2 separate regions of the Homo sapiens genome follow, and region 2 is linked to region 1. Evidence: promoter capture Hi-C in 16 types of primary human blood cells and fetal thymus (Javierre and others, 2016). All regions are on one chromosome and are shown on one strand. Each heading gives the region's core, a stretch centred on a gene start or on the middle of the fragment in contact. The rest is flanking DNA. Distances are from core to core; before and after follow the strand shown. Region 1 holds the start of FBXW12 (F-box and WD repeat domain containing 12). Region 2 has its middle 27 kb from the start of NME6.

Region 1 (2,700 bases), core at 201-2,700:
CACCCCGCCACCACCACCCCCCAACACACCTTCCTGTTCCTCTATTTTTTTTGTTGTTGTTGTTGAGATGGAGTCTCGCACTGTCGCCCAGGCTGGAGTGCAGTAGCGCAATCTCAGCTCACTGCAACCTCCACCTCCCAGCTTCAAGCAATTCTCCTGCCTCAGCCTCCCAAGTAGCTGGGATTACAGGCACCCGCCACCACGCCCAGCTAATTTGTTGTATTTTTAGTAGAGACAGGGTTTCACTATGTTGGCCAAGCTGGTCTCAAACTCCTGACCTGGTGATCCACCCGCCTCGGCCTCCCCAAGTGCTGGGATTACGGGCATGAGCCACTGTGCCTGGCCTCTGTTCCTCTATTTCAAATTCATTCATTCACTCATTCGGCAATTTGCTTCAGTTTCCTTATGTTTGCCTCTTTCTCATCTGTCCTCTTTTCCATTTTATTCCTACTCTGTCTCAGTCCACTTACAGTTATATTTCCTATCTGTGTATTTTATAATATTTGTGCTTTAATACTTTTAAAATATCCTTTATTTTACTGTTTCTTCTCTTCCCTTGTCATATTTTAAAGTGTTTTATTTCTCAGCCTTCTATATCTTTGCATTAATTCTGTTCCTCTACAATAGAGTCCGTTCCAAGCTTTCTGTCTTCCTGTGTCCTTCCACGGCTCTGGCTCTCTCTGCATTATTTCCTATTTATGGAATACAAATCTTTTACCCTTGTATTTTTCTCACTCCTCTCCACACACCCCTTGACTCGCCTTTCCCCACGCCCCTCTAGGTGCTTCTTGGTCTTTGCTTTTCCTTTTTATTTCCTCACCATGTCAATTTGTATTTTTCCTCTCTCTTACTACTGTATCATAAATGGGACTCCCGACAACCACTCCCGTGTGTCTGCCTGGAGGCAGCAGTTTTAAGAAGGGTTGGCCACTGAGCCTCACAGAGGGACCCCTGTCTTATGCTGCAGCAAAGTACCATAGACTGGGTGGCTTACAAACAAATTTATTTCTCACAATTTTGGAGGAGAGAAGTCCAAGAGTCACCTGTCAGCACGGTCAGGTTCTGGTGTGGGCCTTCTTCCAGGTTGCAGCTGACACCTTCTCATGTCCTCGCATGATATGAACAGGGCTAGAGAGCGTTCTGGGGTCTCTTTTATAAGGTCACTGGTCCCATCATAAGGACTCTGCCTGTGACCCACTTACCTCCCAAAGGCCCCCCACCTCCAATCACACCAAGGGTTAGAATTTCAACGTAGGAATTTTGAGAGGACACAAACACCCAGGCTATGACACGGTCTTTAGAAAATCCCAGAATGAGTTGTCAGGTTCTTGGGAGATCTGTAACTGTGGGAAAGCGTCACATCCCAGGGAAAGCCACCAGCTGGGAGAGCCATCCCAGACAAGGCCTGCTCCCTTTGGGCGGACCTCTGTGGAGAAGCCAGCTTGGCACGTTCTTTCTCCTCCACTGCAAAGTTAAATGCGAGAAGGTAGAAACCCAGAGGCCATGCTGGCGCTGAGAGATGAGCCCCACTCACCAGATTCAAGATCCCAAGGTAGGCACAGACACAGGGCAAGCAGACTCCAATTCCAGGAGTTTGGAACTTAAATAGAGTCATAGAGACACTCAGATCTGATCAAAGTGAGTGCACTCGGTGACATTTCCTAAAGGGTTCTGACAACTTCATCTGCAACTGGGGCTGCCCCAGGTTCTGCACCTCCAGCTCACAGCGCACAGGTGTTGCTGAGCTCCTCTAAACAATGAACAGCACTAACAAGTGGGTTTAGGTAGGGATGCCTGCCAGCTGTGTGGATCAGGCCCCAGGGGAGAGGCCGGGGTGGAGGTCAGCCCGGGAGTCTGCACACCTGCAGCTTGTTTCTACCGCACACAGATGGGCATGGGTGAAAATCTTTACAAGTGCTGCAGACTTTGGCAAAGCCTATAAATTCAGAGCAGCCCGGAGAGGAGAAAGGAAAGTGGATGTGGGTTCAGGCCGCATGAAATGGAGATCCGATTGCCTGACTTAGCTTTGAAGCGAATCTTCTCTTTCCTGGACCTGTTCGGCTTGCTGCAGGTTTCCCAGGTGAACAAGGTAAAGGCCTTCCACCTCCCACTGCCCCCCAAGCCCGCTGCTTCTCTCGACCAGTTTGAGCACCACTTTGCAGAATAGCAGAGGGTTACACTGAGGCTTTGGGGGTTAGCATTCTTCATACTGAGGGCCTCATATTCTGTTAAACGAAAAGGACAAGCTGATATCCAGGAGTTGTGCTGACTAAACAGTCCTTGAGGCTCCCATTTCAAGCCCTAGGAAATCAACACTTCTTCCTGTGAATTCATGGGAATACCCAGTGCCTGTATTAGCAGTGATAGGTCTCTGTTGTTACCATTTCCTTATCTCCCCACACTGAGAGTGCTTTGAGAGCTGGAATCCCATCTGATTAACCTGTGCGGGCCCAGCTCCCAGAACAAATAATAGCAGAGGATTACCCTTGCTCTCTGATGTAACTGATTGCCTGCTTGTCTCTTCCTTTCTCTCCCATAGCATTGGAATAGGATTGCAGACAGTGATTACCTGTGGAGGTAAGGGAAGGGAAAGGGCAAGGAGGGAAGGGGAGAGGAGATCATCTGACTGCGCACCCATGCTGTGTCCCAAGGCCTGTGTGGCTGTGTTGTGAGATATACACAGGAAAGTTAGTGTGAGTA
Region 2 (2,700 bases), core at 107-2,606, 98 kb before region 1:
GGGGAGACACTTCCCACTGCCCTGTTGCGGTGGCCCTCAGGGATGGGAGATCGAGACCCACCTGTTGTGACGAATAAACCTGGACTCTCAGCAACGCGGGGAAGAGAGACTTGCAATACTGCGGCGACCAGGTAAACTGCACAGACCAAGGTAGAAAACGTCGCAGGGGCAACAAATTACTTCTTTAGTGGTTTTGCGGGGGTCGGGGCATTCTGGAGGTTGAAAGTGCATGAATGGTAACAAGCACTACTGCTGTGCGGAGTGAGACCAATCTGCAGTTCCGTGGTCATCTCATATGGCTTAGGGCGGCCCTTTGGGGGTCCCGTCAGGGGTTTATACTGACCCCCCATGAATGCTAAAAGTGACCTGGAACATTCCCTCAAGGGAAGCGGCCAGAGCGTGAAGGTTGCAGTGAAAGAAGGGTGCAAGGAATCTCCAGCAGGTGGAGCTAAAGGATAGGCGAATTGTGCCTTAGCAAAGCTTCCAGTGAAGGACAGGCAAGAGACCCCTAATACGAGGGGTTGAGCCAGAAGGAACCCCCCAAATAGGCAGGAGATCCCTAATATGAGGGGTTGAGCCACAGAAAGCCCCCACTAGGCAAGAGATTCCTAATACGAGGGATTGAGCCTAGCCAGGACCCAGTATGGTAAATAATACAAGCAAAAAAGATAAAGTTAGCAACAAAGATATACCACTGATAGTCCCCAAGGTCTCAAAGATATACCACCTGATAGCCCCTTAGGTCTCAGGCTAAAAGGTTGGAAAGATAACAAGAGAACTAAACATAAGACAAAGGAACAAATGATAAAATATTGCTGTTCTATTTGGTCTCAAAGACCTATCCTCAGTCCCTCAATCTTCTGGCCAAAGTTTGGGTCGACTAAGGATATACTATATCAACTTTTAATTCAACATGTAAGTAATAAAAGCCCAGTTTCTCAAGAAGAACTGAACTATGCTCTTTGTTGGAAGCAAAGACCTGTCCTCCCTTTTCCCTTATGCACCTGCCCCTACTGTAGAACCAGTGAGAGAAGGGGGGATCCTGGCAAAGAGAACAGCACATGGGATCCCCTAGACCATCCTCCACCTAATACCCCTAGTCCCCCTCCTAATACACCCAACCCTTCCCCTCAGGCCCAGCCTAAGTCCCCCTCCCCGGAAAAACTCCAAGCTCCTAATTCACCAGGTCGCTTTTGCTGGGCTAGTAACATCAAGGATCCACCGCAACATGTCTGCATCGTCCCTCCCATAGTACACCCCAGCGGCAGGCAAAGCCCATGCTCCTGCCCCCCCGCTGGTCCAACATCCCAGCACCATATTGACGGCGGCTCTGCAAGACCCATGGGCCAGGCCCCAGCCTATGCCCCAAGCAGACTACATTATGGGATATCTGCCTTACTTTTGCCAAGGCCAAGTAATATGGGGCCTCAGCCGCAGCTCCAAGCACCTAGGCATCCCTGCGGCTAAGTCTCCTGAGCAAGTGGTAAATAATCTTTCAGCTGATATATCCGCTAGCATTTATTGTGGTCAGGCCAGTGTTAAAAGTAAAAATATCCACCAGAAAAGAACTTTGATTCTTTAAAGTCGCTTTTTTGTTGTTGTTGTTGTTTGAGACGGAGTCTCACTCTGTCGCCCAGGCTGGAGTGCAGTGGCACCATCTCGGCTCACTGCAAGCTCTGCCTCCCAGGTTCACGCCATTCTCCTGCCTCAGCCTCCCCAGTAGCTGGGACTACAGGCACCCACCACCACGCCTGGCTAATTTTTTTGTATTTTTTAGTAGAGACGGGGTTTCACCATGTTAGTCAGGATGGTCTCGATCTCCTGATCTCGTGATCCGCCCGCCTCGGCCTCCCAAAGTGCTGGGATTACACGCATGAGCCACCACGCCCGACCTCTTAAAGTCACTTATATTAAAATGTGCTACCAGAAAATAATTACATGTGTATAAGTATGAGGCTATTCTGTTAAAAAGGATGGTTTAACATTAACTACTGATAATTCGCGTAACCTAGCAAGTTTCTTAACGAGAGATCCAAATCAAAAAGAAAGCACACATGTTTAGATTTAACTGATTACCGTACAAACGTCTGGCCAAACTTAAGAGAAACCCCCTTCAAAAGTGATTAAGGGAAAAAGAATGCAACAAGTGTTCAGTGGTTAATGAAAGTTCCTAGAGAAAATCAAAGTGTTTAATAATTAGTCTATTCAAATTTATAAGCTGTCTGCACTTAGTCAAGCTTTAAAGTACCTGCAGGACCCGAAAGAACCATATATACTAATTGTAAATACGCCTTTACAGTGGCTCATACATTTAGAAAATTTCATACTGAATTAATAGTAAAAGTTAAAGCCTTGTTTATGAGGAGTTAGTCACCCAAGTATTAAATAACCTTCAGTTACCAGAAAAGAAAAAAATAGCTATTGTCCATGTCCCCAGGCACCAAAAAGCCTGTCTTTCAAGAGTCAAGAAAATAACCTAGCAAATCAGATAAGCCAGAAAATAACCTAGCAAATCAGATAACGCTACAGGAGCATTTCTCCTGTAGGTGCTAAAGGGAACTCAGAGAAATGTTATTCAGACCTCTTATGAAGGAAGTCCTTTCTCCACCTACATTAGAGGACTCATTAAAGACCCCAAGCCATGTATAGCACAAAGTTTATATGTGTATAGGAATTTATACCCTGAGCCAAACAAGTCTA

Evidence for each region. The method cuts DNA at HindIII sites, captures the fragments that hold promoters and counts their contacts. A CHiCAGO score of 5 or more calls a contact.
Region 2: a fragment that was not itself captured here is called in contact with the fragment with the promoter of FBXW12 in region 1 in 1 of 17 cell types (megakaryocytes); the score reaches 5.8 in megakaryocytes.

The regions. Positions count from the first base shown.
Region 1 is chr3:48,370,769-48,373,468 of GRCh38, forward strand. It overlaps FBXW12 (F-box and WD repeat domain containing 12), which reads left to right and starts at 1,451. Exons shown (of 11, transcript NM_207102.2): 1 at 1,451-1,552; 2 at 1,916-2,089; 3 at 2,540-2,577. The coding sequence starts at 2,000. The HindIII fragment of the contact is 9,186 bases long and covers 639-2,700 here.
Region 2 is chr3:48,273,363-48,276,062 of GRCh38, forward strand. No RefSeq gene overlaps it. Among named protein-coding and RNA genes, the nearest start is that of NME6, 27 kb to the right of the region's middle. The HindIII fragment of the contact is 1,757 bases long and covers 479-2,235 here.